Linked DNA regions of Homo sapiens: regions 1, 3, 4 and 5 are each linked to region 2. Evidence: promoter capture Hi-C in 16 types of primary human blood cells and fetal thymus (Javierre and others, 2016). All regions are on one chromosome and are shown on one strand. The core of a region is centred on a gene start or on the middle of the fragment in contact, and the rest is flanking DNA. Distances in the headings are between cores, read along the strand shown.

What was found. The method cuts DNA at HindIII sites, captures the fragments that hold promoters and counts their contacts. A CHiCAGO score of 5 or more calls a contact.
Region 1: a fragment that was not itself captured here is called in contact with the fragment with the promoter of ATP13A4-AS1 in region 2 in 2 of 17 cell types (M1 macrophages and M2 macrophages); the score reaches 8.3 in M1 macrophages.
Region 3: a contact is called between a fragment that was not itself captured here and the fragment with the promoter of ATP13A4-AS1 in region 2, in 1 of 17 cell types (M2 macrophages). The highest score is 5.2, in M2 macrophages.
Region 4: a contact is called between a fragment that was not itself captured here and the fragment with the promoter of ATP13A4-AS1 in region 2, in 3 of 17 cell types (M2 macrophages, monocytes and M1 macrophages). The highest score is 6.5, in M2 macrophages.
Region 5: a contact is called between a fragment that was not itself captured here and the fragment with the promoter of ATP13A4-AS1 in region 2, in 3 of 17 cell types (M2 macrophages, monocytes and M1 macrophages). The highest score is 9.9, in M2 macrophages.

The regions. Positions count from the first base shown.
Region 1 is chr3:192,561,137-192,563,836 of GRCh38, forward strand. All of the region lies in intron 2 of FGF12 (fibroblast growth factor 12), which reads right to left. Among named protein-coding and RNA genes, the nearest start is that of FGF12-AS3, 46 kb to the left of the region's middle. The HindIII fragment of the contact is 877 bases long and covers 828-1,704 here.
Region 2 is chr3:193,551,878-193,554,577 of GRCh38, forward strand. ATP13A4-AS1 (ATP13A4 antisense RNA 1) reads left to right here and starts at 1,336. Exons shown (of 2, transcript NR_121666.1): 1 at 1,336-1,410. All of the region lies in intron 1 of ATP13A4 (ATPase 13A4), which reads right to left. The HindIII fragment of the contact is 3,457 bases long and covers 1-2,700 here.
Region 3 is chr3:192,766,806-192,769,505 of GRCh38, forward strand. No RefSeq gene overlaps it. Among named protein-coding and RNA genes, the nearest start is that of FGF12, 41 kb to the left of the region's middle. The HindIII fragment of the contact is 262 bases long and covers 1,251-1,512 here.
Region 4 is chr3:192,819,842-192,822,541 of GRCh38, forward strand. All of the region lies in intron 1 of MB21D2 (Mab-21 domain containing 2), which reads right to left. Among named protein-coding and RNA genes, the nearest start is that of FGF12, 94 kb to the left of the region's middle. The HindIII fragment of the contact is 6,078 bases long and covers 1-2,700 here.
Region 5 is chr3:192,800,917-192,803,616 of GRCh38, forward strand. The region is part of intron 1 of MB21D2 (Mab-21 domain containing 2); the gene reads right to left. Among named protein-coding and RNA genes, the nearest start is that of FGF12, 75 kb to the left of the region's middle. The HindIII fragment of the contact is 5,224 bases long and covers 1-2,700 here.

The DNA.
Region 1 (2,700 bases), core at 16-2,515, 990 kb before region 2:
ATATATATGCCATATATACACACACACAAACACACGCACAGCTATATACACAAACACACATTCTGCAAATCAATAATAAAAAGACAACACAAATTTTAAAATAAGCAAAATATTTGAACAGGCACGTCAGAACAGAGGACATACAAATGACCAATAAGTACATGAAAAGTTATCAACATCATTAGTCTTCAGCGAAATGAAAATTAAAATGATGGTGAGAAACTTCACTTTTCTTTTTTTTTTTGAGACAGAGTCTCGCTCTTTCACCCAGGCTGGAGTGCAGTGGTGCAATCTCAGCCCACTGTAACCTCCACCTCCTGGGTTCAAGCGATTCTCCTGCCTCAGCCTTCTGAGTAGCTGGGACTACAGGCACCCGCCACCACGCCCAGCTAATTTTTTATATTTTTAGTAGAGATGGGGTTTCACCGTGTTAGCCAGGATAGTCTCGATCTCCTGACCTTGTGATCCGCCCGCCTCGGCCTCCCAAAGTGCTGGGATTACAGGCGTGAGCCACCGTGCCTGGAAAATACTATTTATTTGTGAGGATACAGACCAACTGCAACTCTCATACATTGGGAGTGTACTATGTTACAAACGATTAGAAAATAATACTTCTAGAAATGTCACTTAAAATAGTATCAGATTGTTTGCAAATTTGTTTCCCAGTTCATTATAAAGTTAAACAAGAGCTTACACTATGACCCCGTACTTCTGCTCCTGGGTTTTTACACAAGAGAAGTTAAAACATGGCAAAATAATAATAATAATAATAAAGAAAAAAAGAAAGAAAAAAAAAAGAAAATGACTTGTACATGAATATTTCCAGAAGCTTTATTCAAGTTAGTAAAAAACTGAAAATAATTCAAATGTCTACCAAAATAAAAACAAATAAATACACCATGGAATACTTAGACAATAGACCTTATACTCAGCAATTTTAAATAATTAACTAGTGATACACAACAACATGATGGATCTCAGAAATTTTGTTTAGGAAGAAGTTTCAAAATAGTATAGACTGAAAAAATTCATTTATATGCAATTCAAGATTAGGCCAAACAAGTCTATGATGAGAAAAATTAGATAATTGGTTGTGGGTGGGTGGGGAAGAGACTGACTGGAAGGGATGTGAAGAAATTTTCCCAAGTGAAATGTTGTATGTCTTGATGAATGTGTTGGTTATACAGGTTAATTTAACAAAACTCAATAAATTACACATTTAAACTTTCTGCATTTTATTGCATTTAAATTTTTAATTAGACAATAGAAACACAAAGAATGCATGTATTTTTACTTCATAAATGCATGAAGTAAATAATAAGAAAAACATGAAGGGATTTCTTCAGTAAAGTTCAAAATTTGATTGAAATAAAAAACCCACAATGAAGTAGAATTGTACTAGATACAGCTCTTATTAATAAATAAAAAAATTATATAGGCCATCTTGTCGCCATGGGACAAATAATTGCTGTGAATTTATATTATCTTCAATAAAACATATTTGTAATCAGTAAATAGGTATACTCTTCATTATGGCAACTAGTATGGAAATTTGGGTACAGAAGATAAATTCTGGGTGATACTAACCCTACCTCTGAGACTTTTTTTTTTTTTTTGAGCCAGAGTCTCACTCTTTTGCCCAGGCTGGAGTGCAGTGGCGCAATGTTTCACTGTGCTATGAGAGAAGCTATGTTTCATCCACTAAGCTTCTCTTGCAAACAATTATCTCTCTTATTCACACTGTCATTGTTCATCCTGAACGTTCTCTATCAAGCATTCACACGGATTTCCCATACTGAAACCAACACTGTTTGGCTTACATACTCTTAGACACATTGTTTGCCACATGAGTATGACCAGGGTAATAAGGACACTCAAAGTGCTATCACAGAAAGACTCCAAGGATCTTGAGAAGACTCATACTGGACGTATAAGTGGCTTTTATATGCCATGAAAGAAGATTAGACTTTTTTATGTGATTTTGAGAGCTTTAGAACTGGGACCTACCGTTGAAGTTAAAAGTAAAGCAATTTCAGTTCAAAATAACAAAGTTAGATCTATCCAAGATTAATGGAATATTATTAAAAAGTTGTATAAACTGAAAACAGGTAAATAGACACAAATTTTAAGCATTTGATGAATGGCTAGACAATCCAATCTTTAATATCTCTCATATCCCAAGATTTAATGGTTCTGGGTGCAGATGGTTCACCAGGCTCTTTATGCCCCCAAGCTCACAACTCACACATTCACCACTTGCTCAAACAATGAAGACTTGCACACACAATCCCATCCTCCTCCTAGTTTGTTACCAGCTGCTGCCAATGATTTAATACTGGAGACTGAGGAGAGCCAGAGTAGTTTCAATTGTACTCCCTAAAGAGGAAAAAAATCAAGCTAAATCCAATGAGGAAGGATAATATTTGAGAATGGCATTTTCATTAGCAGCTGACAAGTTTAAAAGTATGAACACAATTACATAGTGCTTTGTCAGCAAAGATGTATCATTAGTGTCCTGAAACAAAGAGAGAAATTCTACATAATTAATAAAATGATATTTAACTCTGCTATTATCAATAGATAAACACAATGATAAGTAGTATTCCTTAGTAGTTAAAGCTTGAACTTTGGATCCAGATTGCCTGATTTGAAATCCTAACCTCTCTGTCAGTTCTCCAATCTGAGAAAATAGAGATGACA
Region 2 (2,700 bases), core at 86-2,585:
TCATTTCGCAGTTAAAGATATTATTTTCAGGTCACCTAGGGTTGCTCTTTAGTTCCTGTTTGCTTTTGGTTTGTTACTTGTTTATTTATTTATTTTTATCTATTTACTTATTTTTGAGACAGAGTCTTGCTCTGTTGCCAGGCTGGAGTGCCATGGCGCGATCTTGGCTCACTGCAACCTCTGCCTCCCAGGTTCACGCCATACTCCTGCCTCAGCCTCCCAAGTAGCTGGGACTACAGGTGCACGCCACCCTGCCTAGCTAATTTTTGTGTTTTTAGTAGAGATGGGGTTTCACCATGTTGGCCAGGATGGTCTCAATCTCTTGACTTGGTGATCCGCCCGCCTCGGCCTCCCAAAGTGCTGGGATTACAGGCACGAGCCACCATGCCCAGCCTGTTTTTGGTTTTTTAACTCCAAAATGGAAGATAATCCCAGGCATCTTTAGGCCTCAGAATATTCTTCTTTATTTGACATGAGGTCTAAACCCTAGCATGTTGTTTTCTCTTGAAATTTGAAGTAATTTCTACCACAAGAGAAATTACGTTTGCAAAGGTTCAAGTAAAGTATATTATAAAGCATGAAACTAAACACTTTGGTGTGACACATTTCTGGACTTGGAAGTCAGAGAAGACAGACTTATTTAAGCTACTCGAATTATCTAGAAGAAAAAAGAAACTCAAATTATCTATAACAGAACAGATGCTGGGGAATCTAAGAAGACTGGATGTTGATGTTCTCCTTAGCTTTGTTTTATGAAGGAAGGGAATGTGTTCTGTTAAGAGTGGAATGTTCTCCGGAAGAACTGGAAAAGGTATCAGTGGGCTATGTTCAGGTCCAGAGACAAAAGAGCTGTCAACTTAAACTAACCTGTGCGGTGCCTCAGCTCCTGGACTTACTGGTTGATGCAACCTTAGGGAAAGCCTGTGTGCATCAATTTCCTCATCTTTAAAGTTAGAATCACAGCATCTACCTCATAGGGTTGTGAGGAAAACTAAATTAGCTAGTGGCCAAGAAAATGCTGTGTATACTAAAAATCACTACAAAATATGTAGACTATATATATAGCTTGATAATTTTTAAAGTTTACTGCTCTGGGCAAGGGATGGAGGAGTGAGTTAAAAAGGAACACAGTGTCAGACACAGCAACAGGCAGGTGGCCAGGTTTCTGTAGGCAGAAGAGGATGGAGAGCTCAGGAGTGCATACTAATTGCTGCACCTCTGCTGAGACTACTGGCCAAATGGCTGCCTACCAGAAAACACAGTGTCCCTTTCCATATTAAAGGGCCTCTCCTAACTGGGCTTTCAGCTGCATACAAAACTACGTGGAGTTCTCCATGCATCTGATGGTGCCATTATGAAGATGAACTGTTAACTAAATTGCTTTGGTGGAATATGTATGCTAGGGAAGAGGTAACAGTTTCCCTACAACCATGAATGTCTTCTGGAAAATAAATGATTCTTATTGAGACTTGAAAGACAAATTGTCTGAGAGCAGAAAGGGGTTTACTGGAAAAGAGTGAGTGTATTTCTAAATGAGAGAGAAAAAAAATGTTTCAGAGGAAGGAGCCCCTGCCTTCTGGTGAAGAGTATTCAAGATGAAGATAAACTTTTCAACTTAATATCGAGAGTAATGAGATATTCACTTCCTAAAGAAAACTCTTTAAAGAAACAAAGATGATATCCAATGTGGGCTAGCAAGCCATTTCTGGTGACATTTGTGGAGGGGCTGAAGGCAATTCATTTGGCAGTCAAATCTGAATGAAGTAAAGGATATGGTTAAGAAAGGCACCTGAATTAATGTACATTTTACTTCTTTATAATTTTTTCAGCTTTGATAGCAGAAGGGATCTACTCTTGAAAGTCCAAAAAATGTTGTTGCTATAGGAACAGGTAAGCAGATTAGACTTGAAAGACCAGTTTAGGAACAAAGAATGTAATAGTCAGGGCTAAAGCAATTAACCAAGAAAACATTTTAAGTAAATATCTTTCAGGTTTGTTATTTACATATTAATTCCAGGAAGATTAAATGCTATTATGGAATGAGAGCGTCACATTTTAACATTTTAATTACATCATTACTGGCATAAAAGACTATGCTTACACAATTAGCAGAAAGATCTTATTAAACAGAAGTACATATTTCTAACTCTCTCTTGATTATATTGTAATTGAGAAATACAGTTTTAAATTCATCCTGAGCATGAAAGTCATCTTTGATTTTCCTATAGTTCTCAAGATAGAAGCACATCTAAAATCAAAGAGATACTGAACTACCGAAAGTTTTCTGTAACCAATCTCTATAATGAGGAAGCCACAAAAGTAAAATTCTAGAAGAAAACAGAAATGTGTGTAGGCTGATAATTGTTAATATTGCATGTCTTCCCTGTCCAACAGACTCGGTGAACAAGACATTTGAGAAGAGAAGGTCAAAGACCCAGCTGCACTTCTGCTTCACTGCTGAACTTCTGCTTCTTCCTATCAGGGAATACACTGCTCCTCACATTAGGGATTTCCTAAAATTGTTAGGTGTTTTGAACAGAACTGGCTATACCAATGAGGCTCAAACAAGAATCATAAAGTGCATGGTGCTTCTCTCCCTCTCTGTTTTCTTTAAAAAGAAAACATTCTTGACAAGATGAATACAATATTTTCATTCTAGCAAATTTCTGCTGTCAGAGGTTATATTTACAGGATAGAGAG
Region 3 (2,700 bases), core at 132-2,631, 790 kb before region 2:
ACCATCATTCTCAGCAAACTATCGCAAGGACAAAAAACCAAACACCACATGTTCTCACTCAGAGGTGGGAATTGAACAATGAGAACACATGGACACAGGAAGGGGAACATCACACACCAGGGACGGTTGTGGGGTGGGGGGAGGGGGGAAGGATAGCATTGGGAGATATACCTAATGCTAAATGACGAGTTGATGGGTGCAGCACACCAACATGGCACATGTATACATATGTAACAAACCTGCACATTGTGCACATGTACCCTAAAACTTAAATAATAATAAAAAAGATATTTTATGTGACTTTTTATCATAAAAAGAGAGAGCATTATGTTGCTGAATTTTCAATAATACATTGAGATAACTTAGATTTCTTAGTATCAGCTGTAAAAAATTAATATTTGATCTTGTGTTTTACTTAGAGACATTTCTTTTACTTGTAAAATGACTGTTTACTGAGAAGAGCATTTTATATGTGTTCTCATTTTAATAGAAACTACAGTGTTGATACTGGTTGAGTTAATTAAAGCAAAATTGGTGAGGTCATAGCAGGTTAATTATCACAGTTTCTAAGCATGTACAACGTCCCATGGTGAACAGTTTATAACTTTAGATAGTTTTCTATAAAAAATATTTTTCTCAAATGCATGTAATTATAATAAATATAATTTCAAGGATATAAGCCAACAACTATTGGAACTGCTATTGAAATAAAAATTGTAACATGATAGGAAAGTATATCTCCCCTTTTGGTTAACTAATTGAGATACAAACTCCATTTCCTTAATAATTAGATGCAAGTAAGTACAGATTTACTTACATTTTGTGGTAAATGAAGATATGCAAACATTTATTAACCTTTTCCTTTGTCAATTTAAAAATAAGCTAGTAATTACTCTACCTGCTATTCTCAAAAGCACTTGTGTCAACAGCTTATCAGGCTCTCAAGGCTCCTGCTTTAAAAAACAAAACAAAACAATACAAAATACCTTATAGCCTCAGACTTCAATTTTCATTTTAATCAGGGCTAAATCAAAGATAGTTTAAGGTTTATAATAATTTATTTCTACAGAACTATACAATGACAGAAATTTTAGAGAAAATCTAGCTAGCCCACATCCCTTAATTTTATAGACAAGAAAAGCAATGCTGAAAAAAATCCACCAAAAATAACTGAGCAAATTAGCACCAGAGTTAGACTTGAAAACTCAGGACTTTCCTGATTTCCAGACCTCTGACTACTGATTTGCCCAAGCTTCTTTTAAAGTCATGTTTCCAACTAGGCAAAATAGAGCTGAGGGGAATAGGCACCTATTATTTTCATCAGAATATGTGGAACTCATTGGTTGCTAGATTTTTTTTAAACAACATATAAGTGCTGTTCTCAAAGAGAATGTAACCTAACAGTGGAATCCAGGTAAATGCATATAAAAGATAAAATGCAGTAAAGTAGCAGAAGAAAACAGTGGTGCACTTATCTAAAATAAATATAATCCTAAGAATTATATTTATATAAGCTTCACCAATTTGTAACCCTTCTCAAAAATGAAAGACTGTTTTTTCTTTTTCTTTCTTTTTTTTTTTTTTTTTTGAGATGGAGTTTCACTCTTGTTGCCCAGGCTGGAGTGCAATGGCGCGATCTCGGCTCACTGCAACCTCTGCCCCCGGGGTTCAAGCGATTCTCCTGCCTCAGCCTCCCGAGTAGCTGGGATTACAGGCGCTGGCCACCACACCCAGGTAATTTTTTGTATTTTTAGTAGAGACGGGGGTTTCACCATGTTGGCCAGGCTGGTCTCGAACTCTGACCTCAGGTGATCCACCTGCCTTGGCCTCCCAAAGTGCTGGGATCACAGGCGTGAGCCACCGCGCCCGGCTGAAAGAGTGTTTTAATAAATACAACACACAGAAAAGGATAGATATATCTGATGCAATATAGAAGGAAACAGATGTGAGATGTTAGTGGTTCTGAGGACAAGCTAGAGAAAGCACTCACCATCATTTGGGAAATGTTTTTATGGTCCTATAGTGAGGGACTGTGTGGAAGAAACAACGTGACAGTGTGACATGTTTAGCATGTCTTTGATGTGTAATTTGAACTGCATTTATAAAAATCACTTAAAAATTATTTCATTTTAACTGTAGCAGGAGGTAAAATTTTTAATGTTCTTACTTTTCAGGGCTTGGTCTTTTTTTTCCTATGGTAAGTAACAATACTAAGTCAGATTCTGATATTTTCAACCCTTGTTGCTTTCCTGTGTCATAATTAGCACCATGGTTTGTACAGATCTTCAATTGCCTGACTTTCATATGCATGGGGCTTAGGAGAGTGGTATACATTCCCATCAAGAGTTATATCAGGCCTGAGTGATGTCTGGATATCAGCAAAGACATTATTCTTAAAACTAGGAAGAAAAGCAAAAAGAAAAAAAAAGAGGAAAATTCCATATATGTAGATGCATCTAGGCAATAAAGATTTTCATCTTCATTTAACATCAAGTTCTTTGTAATGAATGGGGGATTATAACTCTTGATTGTTTGTCTGCATAATTTATCCCACTTTAATATCAAACTTTAATATTTCTAATATGTCTTAGCAATAATTGTTACCACAATCGATAATTAAACTACTGTTCTGGAAGCCAGTGCAAAAAGGAAATTCAACAGGTTGCTGAGTTCACAGTGGGTGATAAAAGAAATTCATGT
Region 4 (2,700 bases), core at 32-2,531, 730 kb before region 2:
GACATCCATCTGTGAAAGTGCAGGCAGCTTGGAGAGCAGGCCCTGCAGCTCCTGCTCTGGGGACAAGCTCTGCATCCCAAGCTCTGAACCTGAAGCAGGACACCCAGGGCCTAGTCCTGGTGCTCCCTACAAGGGGGTAGGGGAATCAGCTCCTCTCCCTAGGTTTCTGTTTCCTTGGCTACCAAGTAAGTTGGGTGGAATACATGGTTTTTAATGTCCTTTCTGACTTTCAGGACTCTATACATAAATAAGTGTGTTTGTGTTTCTGTGGGGAGAGAAAGGGGAGGGAGATGCGATATTAAGAGTGAGTTTGTATAACAGCAAGTCAGAGCTAAGATGTATAAAAGTACACACCCCCCAGAAACACACAGAGGTGTATGCAGAACCTTCAGACAGATTTCTCTAAAATTTATGAGTATCATGAAACAGATTGTAAAAAAGAAAACTATGACATTATGAACGCTGATCTAACTTAAGCACAAAGAGCAAAGTAGACCTTTAACTCCCCCGAGATAACAACTTCGGATAATACAAAATGTAATTTCAGATCTTTCCAAAGGCCTTTCAAAGTCCAGGGATGAGGTTCTGTGTTGCAGGGAAAGGACTCGTACAGAAGTTTTGTTAAAATGATTAGAAAGAAAATAACAGGCACTGGATTTACAGCCAGTCTCTGGGCAATGAATGATTTGTCACCTTTTTCTTCTGTTATTGATTCTCGCCTATAGACAGACGAGGAATGACTGCTGATGAAAGCGTCTGCGTAGCGGCCACTCAGACTGTGTCAAATATTCCTCCGGCGTCCCGCCCCGGGCTCTCTCTGCAAAGGCCCAACCTCCTCACAGATGCTCCGCTGCCTCGTTCAGCCAGCATCTGGAGGTACAACTTCTGACTACCTAACTCGCGCTCCACCCTGTTTTCCATCCCCCCAAATCTTATTTTCTGACACAGGGGCTCGCTCTGTCACCCAGGCTGAAATGCAACGGTGTGATCACGGCTCACTCCAGCCTCAAACTCTTGGGCTCAAGCAATCCTCTCACCTCAGCCTTTTGAGTAATCAGGACTACAGGCGGTGCCACCACACCCAGCTTTTTTTTATATATATTTTTTGTAGAGATGAGGTCTCGCTATGTTGCTGAGGCTAGTCCCGAACTCCTGGCCTCAAGCCATCCTTCACACCCATCCCTCACAAATCCATTTTAAACAAACAAACAGAACATTACGTACCCTTCAAATAACAATGAACACATCGTTTATTTGACTAATGCTGCTGCCTTCCTGATATTGCTAATGTCACTATCCACCACCACCTGGGCTCTTAATAACATCACTCATTTACTGGGCACCTACTTTGGGCCAAAAGGTTTCTTGTGAATTGTTATTAATCTTTATAATGCCCTCTTATGATGAAGACCTTGAGGTTAAATAAATGCTCAAAGTTACATAGTCAGTGGATCTGATAGCTGAACCAAGCTCTCTGACTCCAAAGGTAGGGTTGACTCACAAACATTTCATCCAGGTCAGTAGTGTGAACTATCCACACCTGCTCCCACCTCATTCCTCAACCTCATCTCACAACTTCGCTATTGCCCTGGGAGACCGCAGAGCACCTGCAGCTTTCAAACACTATGGGATCCAGAAATGAAGGAAGCTGGGAGATCCAGGCACAAGCAGGGAGCACCAAACCTAGAGGCAAGTTCTCAGTCCAGAATTTTCTGCCCCTTCCCTCTCTTCTTGCCTAATTCTACCAATTAGGTTCATTGTCACGATTAAAAGGGAAACTGGAAATTGCTTTCTGGAAGTTAAGGCGCTAATTAACATTTACTCTTTGGTTTAAATGTCTGGAATTGGAGAACAACATTCTTAACGCAGCAAAGAACACCAGCCCTGCCACAGTGGGAGTTGGATTCAGAGTTGACTGAGTGATTTGGAGGTCTACAAAGTGCCATGATGGGCCGTCAGGGTCCTGGAAGGTCCTGAGGACAGAAGTAGGAGACAGGGAGGCAGCAAGAGGCAGCACCCAGGAAACCCTTTGTCAATTTCAAAACTGTGCTCAATTTTTTTCTCTTCCTCTTCCTTTCCCTCCCCTCCTATACAGCCTCCTACTCCCCAAACCCAAGATAATAGGATGAGTACTGCATTCCGGTTGCAAACTGAGTTAAAATGGCACCTGTGAACCCAGGCATTATTTGAAATATCTTTACATGGAAATACGTGATCTGATTCTAAACAAACAAGTGTATACCTATCGCATTTCTAAATGTGAGGGAGCTATTATTCACAGCAAGTCCCTGAGAAGCTAATTAAATGTGCCACAAACAAGCATAACAGTCCAACAGAAAAAAGGCGGGGTGGGGGTGGGAGGTTGGAATGGGGCATCTGCTTAAAGTTTTCATTCCTAATAAGAGATGTTTCTAAATTGAGTTGAAGAGAGCTTGTGATACATTGGAGAGTCACTTACACTGTTTCACTTCAATTACTGGTTTCTCCCCAAAATAAGATTCAACAGAAAAGGTGACAGGAGTTCACCTCAGATACCAGTCTCAACAGGCATGGAGGCAGAGACTTCATTAATAGTATAGGAACTCACCAAGTAACTTTATTCCTCCCACCCCTTTTGGATATCCACATAGAAGTTCTAATAGATGTAAGAGCAAATGCAAATCACTGGCATTGTAAAGAATAAGGTCCACCACGGGGAAG
Region 5 (2,700 bases), core at 69-2,568, 750 kb before region 2:
GAAAATTAAATTTAGAAAACTCCGCACCATGAGCGTGACATCTTCTCGAATTGTATACGTTTCTGATTAAATTGGCGATGATATTAACAAATGTGATTTTTTAAGAGATTGTGGGTCCTTTTGAGAACCATGTCTCATGTATTAAGCAGGTATAGAAGACTCCGTGCATGCAGTAGGAACATAATTCAAGCTATGACTAAATGATAAGGGAAAAAATGCATGAAATTAATAGGTAGATAGCATTAATAGATGGAATTAACATAAATTCTTAAAGGCTAGACTTAAATGACTGTTCCATAAACAACATATACATTTTCCCTCCTTCATTATATACTTGCTTACGCTTGATTCTCTGACAAACTACCAGCGTCATCCTGTGATTTATTTAACAGTGTTTCCCCAAAGATCAAGACCTACCACAAAGTATTATAATATTCCATTATTCATTATAATTCATAGTTTGCTCTTCATAGGACAATCCCAAATCAAATAAACCATATGCCTGTGTTTTCTTACTATTATTGTTATACTCTGAACGTTCGTGACTCCCACTCACATGTTGAAATCCCAACTTTCAATGTGATAGTATTAGGAGCTGGGGCCTGTGGTAGGTGATCAGGCGTGAGAGTGGAACCCTCATGAGTGGGATTGGTACCCTTATAAAAGAAACCTCAGAGCGCTTCTTTACCCCTTCTGCCATGTGAGGACACAGTGAGAAGACAGCCATCTATGAACCAGGAAGCTGTCCCTCACCAGACAATGAATCTGCAGGCACCTTGATCTTGGCTTTCTTGACATCCAGAATGGTGAGAAATAAATCCCTGCTGTTTATAAGCTACTCAGTTTAGGTACTTTGACATAACAGCCTGAATGAACTAAGACAATTATACTTTAAAATTTAACGCTCATTTATTAAAATATGCTCTTTAAAATCCTATTTTCCAAACCACATTAACCATGAAAAAGTCTTTTATTTAGTACAATTCTTTACACACAGAAATATGGCAAGTTATCATTTTCTTTTTAAAACCGTAAGTTAGCCAACATTATAGTGTCAACAATTCATCAGAAAGAACATCCAACAAACCTGACTTCTTGGCTGTTTCTCACACTATCTGCACTGTGATACGGCATCCAGGTCCCTCTTCAATAAAGGACTTCCAGCTGCTTAAATGCTAGCCCTTAAGGATTGTCTCAGCTGCAAAGGGCTGTCTTAGCCAGGTCAGGTCCTGTGGCTGGGATGGGGGTTGCAGGTGCACATCCAATAACTGATCGGTGTGGGAGTGTCCCAGCTCAGGATACTCTGAAGGGCCACTCAAACTCTGAGTTCCCAGTGGGGTTGGCTGTGGCGAATGATGCGCCTGCAGGGAAGCTCAGCTTCTCCTACTTGAACCTGCTTCCTTCCCCACTTCGACAGGTGTAGATCCCAAGGGTGCTGCTTCATAAACATCCTAACTCCATTTCAGAGGCTGCGTCCTGAGAAACCCAACATACTACACTAAATACTATCCAAGCAAAACAGAAGATACTACCTACTACCCAAACAAAAACCGTCTTCAGCATGGAAAATATGTTTTTCCTTTTTAAAGTGTTTTCTTTTTTAAAGCCAAACTTAATCCGGATTGAAAGTTCTTATAAATGCCAAGACAAAGATCCATTTCTCAAATGTCATTATGTTTTAATATTAACCTCATCTTTGCCATGTAAAGAAATACTACCATCCCACGTTTTGGTTATTGCTTTAAAGGATAAAATTGATTTCTCAGATTCCAGATTAGGTTGTGAAAATCATTTTCATTATTTTATGAACTCACATGTTGGAACAGTCAGTTTCAGTGAGATATATTTGATAATGAAATCGTTTACTCTTCATTATTTCAAACATCCTTTCATTCTACCATTCAGAATACCATAAATATACGTGAGAAGTACTGTGAAATGCTGTGTTGTGGTTAGTAAATAAGATCTGAATCTATTAAAGTGATATTGTTATTTGAGTACACACTGTTGTCTCCTCTTAGGCGTAACTAACTCAAAATCCTATATATGCTTTTGTCCTGGACAGAAGCAAACTGGCTTTGAGCCCACCAACTAAGACTCGTCTATATAATCAGGGTAACTTGTGCATTAACAACCTGGAGATAATTTGTCTACAAAAGTGCCACTGAATTTTGCCTTGGATTGTTACAATCTTGTTTGGAGAGTCTTGGGTAAGCCATAGCTAAAACTCCCTTCTGCCCTCTGCTGGATTTAAGAAGTTTTAACCTGTTTTCACTTGTCAATATACACACTAGAAAATTCCTGCCAATGATAAAAGGTTCTCTTTCCTCTCAATGATGCTTATGCATCTCGTTAAAATGTTGACCCTTTATTCAAAGGAGTCAACATCAAGTATTTGGCTAAATTCTAATATTCAGGAGATAGGGTAATTTTGAACACTTCTTATTCCTTTTAAAGTGAAGAAAGCCCTTTAGTAGCAGAAAGAGTATTGCAGACACACATTTACTAAGCCCCTATAAGAAACAAAGTCCCTAAGGCCACACTGTTCCAGAAGCTAATCCCTTCCTACATCCACATTTCCATTTAGCCTCCCTGAGCCCATTAGTCTGCAATTTTACAAACGATATGGTAACAGAACTCGAGCCTTCCCCAGCGTTATACAAGCCCAAATGTCTTCCTTGAAAACTTTCCTGGGCTAAG